Linked DNA regions of Homo sapiens: all the other regions are linked to region 1. The links are contacts of gene promoters, found by promoter capture Hi-C in blood cells and fetal thymus (Javierre and others, 2016). All regions are on one chromosome and are shown on one strand. The core of a region is centred on a gene start or on the middle of the fragment in contact, and the rest is flanking DNA. Distances in the headings are between cores, read along the strand shown. Region 1 holds the start of SOWAHD (sosondowah ankyrin repeat domain family member D). Region 2 has its middle 26 kb from the start of SLC25A5-AS1. Region 3 holds the start of SLC25A43 (solute carrier family 25 member 43).

Region 1 (4,364 bases), core at 1,168-3,667:
CCTGGGCGACAGAGTGAGACTCTGTCTCAAAAAACAGTAATAATAAATAAATGCTGCTGGCTGGGCGTGGTGGCTCATGCCTGTAATCCCAGCACTTTGGGAGGCTGAGGCAGGCGGATCACTAGGTCAGGAGTTCGAGACCAGCCCAGCCAACATAGTGAAACCCCGTCTCTACTAAAAATACCAAAAAAAAAAAAAAAAAAAAAAAATCAGCCGGGCGTGGTGGCGGGTGCCTGTAGCTATTTGGGAGGCTGAGGCAGGAGAATTGCTTGAACCCGGGAGGCAGAGGTTGCGATGAGTCAAGATTGCGCCACTGCACTCCAGTCTGGGTGACAGAGTGAGACTCCATTTCAAAAATAAATAAATAAATGCTACTGAGGAAAGCCCCATCTTGGAAAAAAAAAAGTGCCCGTGGGTGTGTCTCATTAGAGGCCACAAATCAAGGTAAATTACATGACTGACCGTGGAAATATCAGAAATGTAAATTTGGAAACTTTTGCCTTTTACCCCCAACCCAAGGCCCCTATATGACAACTCTTCTAGGATGAGGCTGGTGCCTGAGGCCAGACCATCAAAGAGCTCAGGACAGAGGTGAACTGTATGTTTCTCCTCAGATCCAAGTGGAAGTAGCTTCTTCTGTGCACAGCTCTGGCCATTTGTTCTGAGAAGGAGGCCCAGAGCCTGCCCCGGGGGGCACAACATCACGGCCATGGTTGGGTGACCTCTACCCTGCAAACATATGCAGTTTCTTCCTTTGTGGTTAGTAAGGGAGGTGGGGGAAAACACTGAAAGGACAGCCTTGTCATGTGAAAAGAACACATATTCCACTTTAATATACATAAGAAGTAACCTGTGATACATGAGAAAAAGTACCAGTAAGGCTGGGTCGTCTCAGGAGGAGGTTGTCAGAGGCTGACTCTACCCGCACCCCAAGACCCATTAATGGCCGAGCGAGGCCGGCAGAGTTAGGCGTTTTCTCTGCATTGGTGGTTTACAATCTTAACTCATTCTTCTAGCGAATGTTTCCTAATAAACCCAGCGCGTCGGCCTGCCCAGAAATGGCCCCTGGAAGCTTAACTTGCCCTCTCCCAAGCAGGACCACGCTCCCTGCTCCCAACTCCTTAGTCCTGTAGCTTTGGAACTCGGAGCCAGGCCAGCTTGGTCCTTCACTCTCTCTTGGTGAGGTGGTGCCCGAGTCCCCGGGTCCTCCAGGCCGGTGGTTACAGGAGACCTGAGACAAGTACCTGAGTCGGACCCCGACGTGTTCTGTTCCTTGCAGGCCCAAGCAGCGTCCAAGGCGCCTCTCCTTCGGTGGAACCCGGGACAACCCAGGACCTAGCCATCGCCACAGTGTCACAGCCCCTCCTAGCTCTCCAGTCTCTGTCCCTGTCAACGGTCCTGGAATGAGGGGAACAGATGGCGGAAAAGGCTATGCATTTGCGCCACCCGGCTGCCCGCGGTGTCCTTCGCCTTGGTCCGCGACGCTGCCACTCTCCTGCTTGTCTCCACAGCCGTCGCGCCCACTGCGCTCGCGGCCCTCCACGCAGTGGTGCCACTGCTGTTGTTGTTCAGGTTGGTGCACCCGCTGCCGCTCTCCATCTCCCATTCCTCGGCTCCCGACAGCTCCCGCAACCTCCAAGGCGCGTCGGGCCGCAGGTAGTGGCAGGCCCGGTGGCCGCTGTGGTCGCGGCGCGTAGCGTCAGCACCCAGGGCGCCCACCAGCACCTTGATGACCATGTCGTGGCCCTGAAGGGCCGCCAGGTGGAGGGGCGTGAGGCCGCCGCTGCCTGGGGCGCTCACGTCGAGCCTCAGCCCCCGGCGTAGGGCGAAATCGTGTACCAGAATGAGCTCCTCGTGGCGCCCGTGCTTGGCCAGCCAGTGCAGAACCGAGTAGCCGGTGATCGGGTCGCCCCGCAGCAGCAGCTCCGGCTCAGCCTCCAGCAGCTCCCGCAGCACCTCATAGCGGCCCTCGGCGGCTGCCAGAATCCACGCGTGCTCCCGCGGTTCCAGGCACAGCCTGCTGCTGCCCGGCCCACTCGGCCCGCCCAGCTCCTCGGCGCGCTCCTCCGACAGCCACCCCGCAGGAGCCGCCCGCTGCAGCCCCAGCAGTTCCCGCAGCGCTCCCCGCCGGCGCCCTGAGCCCGCTGCAGAGTGCATCAGCGTGCCTGGGAAGGGGTGCTCCCGGGAGGCGGCGGCTGCGGCTTTGCCCCAGTACCTGCCCAGGCTACCAGTGTCCGCTCTCGAGGGGCGGGGCTGCGGGGCGCACCGCAGGCTCTGCGAGGTCGGCGCGAGAGAGGCCGTGGGTGCCCGGTTCGCGGCCCCTCCGAGCTGGGCCATGGTCTTGAAGCTGCCGCCGCGGCCGTCCCAGTGTCCAGCGTTAGCTGCCCTTCCCGGGCCCCAACGGGAGAGGAACTGGCGCTGGCGTTGGGGAAGGAAGCTGCTTGAGCAATTGGGTTCGGAGGGAGGGAGCAAAGGAGAGGAGGAGGAGGAGGAGGAGGAGGAGGGAGGGAGCTAGGGGAGGGCCCCCGCGCAGGCCTTGGGGGGCGTGGAGGGGTGTGAGCTCCAGCCAAGTCCCCAGGGCAAGCCCAGCTCCACTTCCCTGGGTACCGCCGCCTCTGCAGCTCCCCCGGGTCGCGGGCGGTCCCACCCCAAACGGCCAGGTGAGCTCGGCAGCCCCGCCTCCAGCACCGAAGGGCGGGCGCGGGGACTGGCTGGGAGCTCGCCTGCGGCCCTGGAAGCCGCGGTTCTCAGCATCCCAGCCGGGGCTAGAGTGTAGAGGCGCGAGGGCGCCCCTTCCGCAGCGGGCCGAGCTCGGCTTCCAGCCACGGTCTCCCAAAGCGCGGTCCTGGAGCTCCGAGGCTCTGGCTCCCCGCCCCCTTCCTTCGCCCTTCCCTCTTATCTCTTCAGGAGTCTCCCTGCACTTTGTCCCGGAGTTGCCATTGTCCCGCGCCTAGCATTCACGCAGGCAGCTCGACTGCCCCATGTGACTGGCTCGTCTGCCTGCCTTGCCCTTTGTGTGGCCTTGACCCTCGCCGCAGCACCCGGGGCTGCCCAGGATTCCAGCAGAGAAGCCCAAGACCAGGGTCCAGGCTGACGCTCTTCCAGGGAACTCAGGAGGGATATTCCCCTTCTGCACCGCCCTCTCTGTCCTGCTCTCCACCCTCTTCCCTCCCGTCAATTTTCCCAGGTTGGCTTGGAGAAGCAGCTACAGGTGAATCTGAGCCGGCGCCGCAGGAGCGCCCTGTTCTCTTTAGAGATGCATCCCTGCTCTCTCCCCAGGGCCCCGCTTTCTACAAATTCAAAGCTTAGGGGCTTTTTAAAAAAGGATATTTTTTCTTTTTCACTCCTAATACCAGCGTACTCTTTGCTCTTCCCTTCCCTTAGTAAATAGTGGTTCTTGCCTCCACACCCCCAGCATCTTAAGGAGCTCAGTCAGTGAGCAACGGGGAGCCATAGAAGATTGTTGAGCCGGGGAGAGACACAGCCATGATGGAGGTTGTGTTAAAAAGGTGATTTGGGAGGTGCAGAGGCAGGAAGTCGGAAGACTGTTCCAGCAGTCTAGGCCAAGGGGGATGGAGGCTCAGGCCAAATCAGCCCACTCCCTCGGGGCCACCTGTGGCAGCAGTGATAGAAGGTATCGGAAGCTTTTCTTCCTTGGCCCTCACGTATTTGGAACAAGTCCTAAATATCTAGAGCTTTCCTTCAGAACAGTTTATGCATTTGTAATTTGGTTTTGAACATTTACTATGTGCCAGGCACTGTGCTTGTTGCGTTATATATGTTAACTCTTTTAATCCTCCCAGTGACCTCAAGTGCTGGGAATCATTACTGTCCCCAGTTTGCAGAGAGGTTAGGCTACTTGCTCAAGGTCACCCAGCAGGAAGTGGCAGAGCAGGTCTGTGCGACACCATAGCCTTTGTTCTGGTACACAGGAACTGGCATTCAAGCCTGGCTTATCAACTGCAAATCACATACAAGCCCCAAATTCCAGCCAAAAGGATAGACTTGTAACGTGAGCGTATCTATAACTTACACTCCTCTGCCTGGAAGAGCTTCTATGTAGTGAAGTTCTTTTCTTTCAAGGTTGCGCTTAGTTTCCACCTCTAGCAAGCCTCCTCTGATTATCCCAGCCCAAAGTGATCCCTCTCTTTCCCCAGCCCTGTGTTTCTGCTACTTCTTTGGCCCCAAGACTGCCTTGTGTTACATCTCTCTCCCCTTGCTCTCATATGCCAATTAAACTATAAACTCTTGGACAGCTATGTCATACTATCCTTGTGCACCTAGTAGTTATCCAAGAAATATTTGTTACCTTGTTCTGGTTTGGCAGGCTGGGAAAATGTGATTGTGTGTGTGTATGTTGGGGG
Region 2 (4,913 bases), core at 2,100-4,599, 260 kb after region 1:
AGATGGCACTTCCTTTTTTTCTTGAGACACAATCTTGCTCTGTCAACCAGGCTGGAGTGCAGTAGTGAGATCTTGACTCACTGCCACCTCTGCTTCCTGGGTTCAAGGAATTCTCCTGCCTCAGCTCCCCGAGTAGCTGGGATTACAGGTGTGTGCCACCACACCCAGCTAATTTCTGTATTTTTAGTAGAGACAGGGTTTTGCCATGTTGCCCAGGCTGGTCTCGAACTCCTGGCCTCAAGTGATCTGCCCACTTCGGCTTCCCAAAGTGCTGGGATTACAGGTGTGAGCCACCGCGCCCGGCCGAGATGGAGCTTTCTCTCGGAAGTGTTTCCAGATTCCCCAAATGTCAGTTAGTTAAACATTCTTCCTTCTTTGCTCCCAAATCTCAGTCTGCTGACCCCTCTTAACACTCTTGTCACACTATATTGTAATTCTTACTTCTCTGCCTCCTTCACTGGGATATAAGCTCCATAAGGGTAGGATTTTTTCTCTCTTCTTCTCTGCTGTGTATCCCTTGCTCCTAGTACAGTGCCTGGCCCACAATATCTGTTCAGCAAATGTCAAGTCAATAAATAGTTTGGTCTTATGTTACAGCTTGTTTTAATTCCACTTTATTAAACTAATAAACTAATTCCATTTATATATGTGTGACTGGCTTCTCTGGCAGAGGACAAAGTCCTTAAGGGAAAGGACTATGCTTAAGTCAACTTTGCATCCTCTTCCCCTCCCCTTGGTACTTGGTACAGGACCTTGTTCATAACAGACACTCAACAAATGTTCACTGAATGAGTCTGTATGTGTATATTGGTTGTTAAGGGTACACTTTTTTTTTTTCCTTTCCATAGAACTGCACAAAACTGTTTGTGAGCAAGATCTGAGAAGCAAGCGATGTGCTTTTTGAACGCCTGCTGTTCTGGCACACCTGGGCCCAACCCTGACTGAGCCCGAGGCACAGGAAGGAAATGCAGTTGCAATGTGATTAGGGTCATGAGGGTTTCTGTAACCGAGGGACGCCAAAACCTGAGTGAGTCTCTGAGGGCGATCAAGGGTTGCCCAGGACCTATCCTGAAGCTCTGAAGCCTTCCTAGATGACAGTCTCTGACTCCTCCTATGGAATCCCTCATAGGAGCCCCTGGCCGGGCTAGATCCCTAGGATAGGTGAGCTGACTTTGGAAGTCTTTCTGGTGCAATGTCACTTGGAAGTCAAGCTGTTTGTGTTGGGATAATGTAGAAAGAAGAAGCCTGAAGAGAAGGCCTAGGAGGGGCTGGGCTGACAATCCAGCCCTTTGAAGAGCAGGGGCTACCTCTGTGGTCTAGGGCACAGCCTGCCAATCTGGCAGGATGACCTCAGATGATGGCCGAGACAACAGCTGGATTCCGGATTGTTGTCTTGCCCTGCAACCCTGGGGCCCCCGTACCCTCAGGCCCATTGCCACAGCAGCACATGCTTCTTTGTGGAGGCTGAGACCTTTGATCAGCTCAGTAGCCACAGCAACTCTTCCTAAAAGGCACTGGCTTGGGAAGCTCTCCTGTGGACTCTTACCAGCCCTCTAGAGGCAGAGTGGGGGCCCCAAGAACAGCATCAGGAAAAAGTCAATGTAGTAAGAACTTTAGATGACACAATCTTGCCTCTATACAGGAATTTTAGCCTAGATACAGGCTATTTTTTAGTTTTTCCTTTCTGTGTAAGAAATGCACCATACAACACAACATTTAGCTTTTTCCCAATAGGAAAAAAAATGCACCAAAGGGCCCAAGATCGGTAAGTGAAAACCTTGAAACTTACAGCCAGGGAATAGAGGGACATGCATCGAACACGGGAACCACTGACATGGACGTTTTTCTTTTTGTTTAAAAAGCATGTATAGGCGGGGTGCAGTGGCTCACGCCTGTAATCCCAGCAATTTAGGGGGCCAAGACAGGTAGATCACCTGAGGTCAGGAGTTTGAGGTCAGCTTGGCCAACATGGTGAAACCCTGTGCCTACTAAAAATGCAAAAATTAGCTGGGCATGGTGGTGGGCACCTGTAGTCCCAGCTACTTGGGGGGTGAGGCAGGAGAATTGCTTGAACCCAGGAGGTAGAGGTTGCAGTGAGCCGAGATCGCGCCATTGCACTCCACCCTGGGCCACAGAGTGAGACTCCGTCTCAAAAATAAAATAAAATAAAAACAATAAATAAATAAATAGCATGTATATTGCACTTACCACATGCCCAGGCACCGTTCTAAATGCATTGCAATCTGTTAACTCACTGAATCCTCATAACAAGTCTTTTAAAGTAGGTACAGTTATCCCCATTTTACGGTGGAAGAAATGGAAGCAGACAGAGGTTAAATAACTTGTCCAAAGTTGTAACCACCCAGTGGGTTCACCTTGCTCACTGCCTAGATAGAGACGATTTATCAAGACAGGGGAATTGCAATGGAGAGTTCGGCCTATGCCCAGGAATGAACAAGGACAGCTTAAAGGTTAGAAGCAAGATGGAATCGGTTAGGTCTGTTTTCTTTCACTATCATAACTTCCTCAGTTATAATTTTGCAAAGGTGGTTTCAAAGTCACACAGGCGATAAATGGCAGAGTCAGGATTCCAGCCCAGGCAGCCTCTGTTTGCTTCGGCACTCTGCCCTGCTGCCTCCTTGAGTTTACAAGCCTCGTGATCATAGAACAGGACAGGGAGTGGCCCTCTTACTCCTCCCTTTTTCTTTCTTCCTTAGGTTCTTTTATATGGATCAAGTGCAGGAGTCCAGCCTGTCCCCTAGCCACATCAGGGAGAAAAAAAATGTGTGTGTGTGTGTGTGTGTGAGAGAGAGAGAGAGAGAGAGAATATGAGAGAATATGAAGGTGGCACTGCTGTCTGGATGCTTCTGGAAAACCCAGCTCTGTCAAGGACTGAGGAATACTGCAGTGGAAACTCCTGCATTTTATTTCCTGAGCCAGAATTCTGAGATGAGTATGCTTAGAGACTCCCCTAAGATGAGCAGCATCAAAGTCTCTTTAACCCTTGCCTCAGGGAACAGTCACCTAACAAAGAGGAGCTGGGGCTAAGCTTCTGTTTTACACTGAACAGAGCAGGGAAGAAAATTCATGCATCAGGGTGCTCTTTAGAGTTCTATTGTGAAGGAGAATAACTTGTTTATATTAGGCAAGGCCCCAGTAGCTTCTTTGTAAATTTCAGTCTGGAGAAAATAAAGCCAGAGCTGCAAGTCCAAACAGGTAAAAAAAAAAAAAAAAAAATTTTTTTTTTTTTTTTGAGACGGAGTCTCACACTCTTGCCTGGGCTGGAGTGCAATGGCGCAATCTCAGCTCACTGTAACCTCTGCCTCCCAGCTTCAAGCGATTCTCCTTGCCTCAGCCTCTCAAGTAGCTGGGATTACAGGCACCCGCCACAACGCCCAGCTAATTTTTTTTGTAATTTTAGTAGAGACGAGGTTTCACCATGTTGGCCAGGCTAGTCTCGAACTCCTGACCTCGTGATCCGCCTGCCTCGGCCTCCCAAAGTGCTGGGATTAGAGGCATGAGCCACCGCGCTTGGCCCCAGGTAAAATTTTGATAAGCTCATGAAAATTTCAACTAGAGAGTTCAGGCACCCATGGCTGGGATGAGGGCAACAAATCTGGAGCAACAAACATGCAACCAACAAGCTTTTTTTGACAGCATACTTTTGTTTGGCACTCCTCTACGCACTGGGATACAAATATGAGTAAGAATGCTACCACCTAAAATAATAGATGCCTGGATAGGCATAGCTTATCTCTGGAAGGTAACACCAGAATGTGGTCATGGAGATTACCTGTGGGTGGCGAGGGAACAGGGGTGGGAGGGAAACTAACTTGTTACTGTAAACCCTTTATACCTTGTCAATTTGGTATCCGAGGATATATTACCAATATATTACCCATTCAAAAGATAAATGTGGTATCAGGGAGACACAAATACGTAAATGTGTAAATAGAGAAGTAAATAGCAGCATCAGCTCACAAAAGCATGTTCACAGTGCTAGAGTTATTGACAACAATGGAGGAACCATGATATAAAGACTGAATTTACTAGCCCAGGCATGATGGCTCACGCCTGTAATCCCAGCACTTTGGAGGCCCAGGCCGGCAGATCGCCTGAGGTCAGGAGTTCGAGACCAGCCTGGCCAACATGGAGAAACCCTGTCTCTACTAAAAATACAAAAATTAGCCGGCCGTGGTAGCTCATGCCTGTAATTCCAGCTACTTGAGGGGCTGAGGTGGGAGGATCACTTGAGCCTGGGCTATCGAGGCTGCAGTGAGTTGAGATTGTGCCACTGCACTCCAGCCTGGGAGACAGGAGTGAGACCCTGTCAAAAAAAAAAAAAGACCAAATTTACCAATTTGGTTTCCTGGCTTAGGACAGAATTGAGGCTTCAGCCATGATAGTGACGTCTAAGAAGTCCCTCTACCTCTAGCCAGAGGTCCTGGCTAGAAGAAAAAAAAAAAAGTATGTTTTCTTGTCTTTTTCCAAACACATCACAAGAGCAATATATAACCTGACAAGAATGCAGGGGCAGGTAAGACCTGCCTAAGGCTGAAGGAGTTTTGTCCTTCCATAGGCATTGGCCTCCTCCTCCCCTCACAGACAAAGGTGACTGTGTCAGTAACAACTATTTACCTTGCAAGCACATACCTGTGCCTAGCCAGACCTACTCCCTTGCATAGAGAAGTGATTCCTGACAGACTCTGCATCCAACTGGTCTTGGGGCAATGCCACCTGCTCACTCTAGCCTAAACCTGCTGAGGAGCTAGCACAATCCTGAGAAAAAGGGTCAAGAAATCACGTTCTGGCCGTTGAGTGGTGGCTCACTCCTGTAATCCCAACACTTTGGGAAACTGAGGCAGGAGGATCACTTGAGGCCAGGAGTTCAACACCGCAGTGAGCTCTGATCA
Region 3 (4,953 bases), core at 551-3,050, 360 kb after region 1:
GTAAAACAGGCACAATGCTTCCTGTCCTATGGACCTTACAGGGCAGGAGGCAGGAGCTTAAAAAATCTAATGTGCATATACTAGGTGCTTAGCAGAAGAGCCACAATACTTAAACCAGCCTTTGAAGTTCTGCCCCCCACCCCTCTGGACATATTTTATCCCATCCAAAGGAAGATTTCCACACTACTTTGTAGAGAAGAGGGTGAAGTGGGGGAGAAACTGAGTCATTAAGACTCAGAGGAGAACTGTTTACAGACTGCAGGCCAGATGTTGATGAGGGCAAGCAGAGGTGGGGAGGAAAAAGGGCCTTAACTAAATGTCATGGTCCCACCCATGAGTCCCTCTGCAGAGGAAGAGAAGGGAACTCTATTTCCAGGCAGAGGCAAAATGAGTACTGGCCTAGAGGCCTAGGTAATAAGGATGATTCCGTTCGGCTTGTCGGCTGCCAGGTGAGCCTTCCACCTCTGGCCTCCCAGGTGAGTGACAGTGTCAAGGCAAAATCCTTTGACTATTAGCCGCCAAGACTAAACTATGCGGTCAAGACCGACTCTCCCAAATGTGGGCTGTTTGTCTAATTCAGAGCCAAGGCGATATCAAAGATGCCACTGTGCCCACTGAATGAGGAACACAGGGACCGTCCCCCCAATACAGAAACATCTCTGCTTCCTGAAATGCCATCACTACCAATTCATTCTTTCAGGCTTGGTTTCCAGTTCAAATGCAGGTACCTCTGAGCTCGGTGGAAGCTTTAAGGCTGCATTTACACCTTTAGATCTTTTCCTAAGGAGCAGCTGTTGATGTGGGAGAAGGTGGAAAAGGCCCAAATAAATGAGGCCAGTGGGGTGAAGCGGTAGGCTGAGGGGGCCGTTCTCAGCTTGGGGAGGGGAAGCTGCAGCCTCTGTCGGAGCCTGAAGTCAAGCTTCATTTAAGTTGGGGAGATGTGTGGGCAAAAATCTGCGGCCTTTTCGTATCGATGGATCGGGTCCTTTCCCCACACCAAGCACTTTCTTCTCGGGGCTTGGGTCACACAGACAAAAACACCTTTAAAAGGGTCTCTCTCTTCCTAAGCCAGCCTAAGCAAAAGTTTCCAAATTGGAGGACGGTGGAAATGGTTAGGACTCATCTCTCTGGAGAGCTTTTCATTCCTTTCCTCCAAATCCTTTGCTGCATTCCACCTCCTCGCCCGGTCCAATCCGGAAAGCCTCTCGGACCAGGGCTGCGGACCACAAAACTGCATCTTGCAGGGCGGTAACCCCAAGAGAACGTGAAAAGCATTGGGGCTGCACTCTGGGGGCCATAGAGGTGGCCCACCGCCCCGAGGGGTCCCCAGGTGATCGACAAGGGGGCCGTCCCTACTCCAGGGCCCCGAGTCCAGGCAGCAGGGCGGCGTCGGGCCGCGGCTCCCCCACCCCACCCCCGTCCGGTCTCCCGGTTCCCCGGCCCCGCCCGGCTCTTACTTGCGGTAGGCGGCGAGCTGCACGGCGCTGCAGGGGAAGAGGCGCAGGCACGCCACCGCGTTCCCCTTCCACAGGGCCCGGAGCCCCTCTGCCCGCCACACCCGGTGCCCTGTGGCCCACGGTCCCCGGGCGTGGCCTCGCACGACGCCAACCTGGGCCAGCACGGTGGCGAGCTCCAGGGGCGCGGTGAGGCTGAGGCTGAGCGTCCCCGCCAGCCCAGCGCACAGCAGCCTTTGGCCGCCTGTCAGTCGGCCGTCCCGCCTCCACGTAGCCATCGAGCCCCGACCCGGGCCCGGAAGACCGCGTGGCTCGGGCCTGGGGCTCTCCGGCCACGGGCGGAGGTGGCGGGCCCCAGGCCCCGCCCGGCATGGGGCGGGCCCGCGTGAGGGACGGGAAGCCCCGTCTACGCCCTAGCCTGGCCCGAGGCTGGTCGGGGGTGGGGCGCGAGGGCCTGGAGGGTCCGGGGTCCGAGGCCGCGGATATCATGGGCATAGTCTCCCCAGTTGGCAAGGCTCGAGTAGCGACTTTCAGTTGCGAAACAGTTACTGTTCTCTCAAGGCCCAGCCTGCTAGACATCTTGCTTCCTAAATGTTCAGTGCGCCCCCGCCGCCCCTCCCTGCCTCTCCTCTGGTTTGCCCCTTTTCTCCCTTTCACGTGCCACTTCTCTGTCTTCCTCCCCTGGCGCTTCCCTCCTCCTCCTCTTGCCTCCAACCCATTTTTTTTTCCTGCCTAACCAAAAAGCCTTGATGGTTTCCCAGTGCAGAAGGTAAAAAATTCTAACAACCACAGTTGCTATCTCTCAGGCACTTGTCAAGTACTGGGCTTTACAGACGTTCTCATGTAATCCTCAAAACGGCCCTAAGTACGTATGTCCTCATTGACAGAGGCTGTGTGGGTGTGGGGACTTGAATCTGGACTCTTGAACCTGTGTAAGATTCTTGGCTCTGCAGCTTACCAGCTGTGGGACCTTGGGGAAGTCACTCAACCTCTCTGTGTGTCAGTTGCTTTATAAAACAGAGATTATAATTTTTTCCTCCTAGGGGTTGTTGTAAGGATTAATGAACAATGACTGGTATGGGTAAGCAGTTTATATGTGTTAGTTCTGATTAGGTATTCATTTACAGGAGAGGAAACCAAGACACAGAGAGGACTTGCTCAGGCTCACACAGCTACCTACAAAGCAGAGACCGGTTTGAAATCTAGGGCGGTTTATGTCAGTTTCCACTAACGGCTACACTATATGTCTACTAGGACTGCAGAGTTAACTCCAGTAGGGACATTTTCAGTGGTTCTGTAAGCTAAGAGAACAATAGAGGCAAAGAATGGCTAAGAGAGGCTTGGCCAGAATCCGAGGATTCTTTAATCAGTTCAAAAATTTCAGAATTTCAGAATTTCTTTCTGTCTCTTTTTTTTCTAAAAAAGCCATGTCACTAATAATTACAAGGAAAGGAACTGTCAGCAGTCTGTTGGTGTGAGCAAGATGTTCCGGGTACATAGTTGTTTTTAGGCTTGTATAGTTATTTACATTTACTAACACACAATGCTATAGGAACGTTTTCTAAAAGGCATTGCAGGGTTTCTCCTTTTTTATTTTTCACTGTCAATCTCACTTGAGTATGACATTACAAGGTTTTGACTGTGAGAACTTGTTCTAGTTGCAGAAGCCATACTCTGCTCTCAACAATTGGGGAATGCTTATTTTCATGTTTTGTGAATTCTTCTGTCTTGTTGTAAGCTAATTTGATGGCTGGGGGAAGCTTGAGAAAGATGTATGACTCTGAAGACCGGAGGACCCCGACTTTAAAAGGGCTTGAATTGGAATTTGGGGATTACAATAAGGAAACCTTCGGGTACTGGTACTTCCTAAAGCCCTTTGTTGGATAACGGGACAAGATTCTAAAGCTCTTTCAGGAAGTTCGTGGGTCTGGAACATTTCATGTGATAACCCCATTGTATGGAGATTGGGTCAGCCAAGTTATGTTTTTTTTTTTTTTGAGACAGAGTCTCGCTCTGTCGCCCAGGGTGAAGTGCAGTGGCATGGTCTTGGCTCACTGTAACCTCTGCCTCCTAGGTTCAAGCGATTCTCCTGCCTCAGCCTCCTAAGTAGCTGGGACTACAGGCATGTGCCACCATACCCAACTAATTTTTTTGTATTTTCAGTAGAGATGGGGTTCGCCATGTTGGCCAGGCTGGTCTCGAATTCCTGACCTCAGATGATCCACCTGCCTCGGCCTCCCAAAGTGCCGAAATTACAGGCATGAGCCACCGCGCCTGGCCTATTTTAACCTTGAAAGTAAAATGTATGGCCGGGCGCGGTGGCTCACGCCTATAATCCCAGCACTTTGGGAGGCTGAGGCGGGCGGATCACGAGGTCAGGAGATCGAGACCATCCTGGCTAACACGGTGAAACCCCGTCTCTACTGAAAATACAAAAAATTAGCCGGGCGAGGTGGCGGGCGCCTGTAGTCCCACCTACTTGGGAGGCTGAGGCAGGAGAATGGCGTGAACCCTGGAGGGCGGAGCCTGCAGTGAGCCGAGATCACGCCACTGCACTCCAGCCTGGGTGACAGCGAGACTCCGTCTCAAAAAAAAAGAAAGTAAAATGTATATTTTTCACTGCAGGTACACTGAAGCATAAAATGAATAACACCAAACTATATATTGGATGCCTTCTGTCTTTTCATGATCATGTGCTAACCAGGTGTTCATATTTTACTCAGCCAGAGTCTCATTCATCTGCTTAGCATTGGGCACCTTATGTATATTCATCCTAAACATAAATAAATCTCCGAGGATATCCTGTATTTGGATTGTGACTTGTATACTCAAGCCAACCTTATTGCCTCTTTTTCACACTTGTTGAAAAGTCTGTGGAGAGCATAGTAGGTTAACAAGCTCCAACTTTGGAAAATGTACATGATGTGAAATTGGGGTGCTATGCTAAAAATAAATGTATGATAACTAAAAAGGAAGAGGCAGTGAGTAAAAAAAAAAATCTTAGAAGTTATGTTGCAATATAAGGAGAAAGGTGGCCAGCTGAGAGTTAAGCCCTAGGCAGCCTCTCGTTGCCCCAGTCAGGGCTTGGGAGATGCTAACAGTTTTTTAAATTCTCCAGCTTTCATTTTTCAGTTTATCTTCTCACCAACTGAAATCTCTCAGTACATTACTTTAGTTTAACTTGCTAGTATTTCTTAGAATATAATTTATCTTGTTATATTTATACTAATGTTGATTGATTCCTGCTCTCCTAATTTTCTTTTATTTTTTACTTTTTGGGAAATTTGTAAATTATAAAGTAGTTTATACCTGTTGTAACAAGACAAATAGTCCAGAAGTGTATTAAAGAAAGTTAAGTTCCCCTGCCCATGCCCTGAGGTAACCACGGTTAAGAGCTTGGTGCGTGTGTGAATGTTTTTCCTCATATTTTTTTTTCATGCTCAGACCAATAAATATTTATATGGGGTTGCTTTCTCCTCCTTTCCGCTCTTCCCTCCTT

The links. The method cuts DNA at HindIII sites, captures the fragments that hold promoters and counts their contacts. A CHiCAGO score of 5 or more calls a contact.
Region 2: a fragment that was not itself captured here is called in contact with the fragment with the promoter of SOWAHD in region 1 in 4 of 17 cell types (fetal thymus, total B cells, naive B cells and 1 more); the score reaches 9.9 in fetal thymus.
Region 3: the fragment with the promoter of SLC25A43 here is called in contact with the fragment with the promoter of SOWAHD in region 1 in 3 of 17 cell types (fetal thymus, naive CD8 T cells and endothelial precursors); the score reaches 5.8 in fetal thymus.

The regions. Positions count from the first base shown.
Region 1 is chrX:119,756,641-119,761,004 of GRCh38, reverse strand. It overlaps SOWAHD (sosondowah ankyrin repeat domain family member D), which reads right to left and starts at 2,417. Exons shown (of 1, transcript NM_001105576.3): 1 at 803-2,417. The coding sequence starts at 2,337. The coding sequence ends at 1,390. RefSeq lists enhancers at 407-476, 487-556 and silencers at 2,108-2,407, 2,518-2,667. The HindIII fragment of the contact is 2,232 bases long and covers 1,075-3,306 here.
Region 2 is chrX:119,492,445-119,497,357 of GRCh38, reverse strand. No RefSeq gene overlaps it. Among named protein-coding and RNA genes, the nearest start is that of SLC25A5-AS1, 26 kb to the right of the region's middle. The HindIII fragment of the contact is 595 bases long and covers 3,052-3,646 here.
Region 3 is chrX:119,396,183-119,401,135 of GRCh38, reverse strand. SLC25A43 (solute carrier family 25 member 43) reads right to left here and starts at 1,800. Exons shown (of 5, transcript NM_145305.3): 1 at 1,458-1,800. The coding sequence starts at 1,732. RefSeq lists a silencer at 1,277-1,936. The HindIII fragment of the contact is 2,295 bases long and covers 922-3,216 here.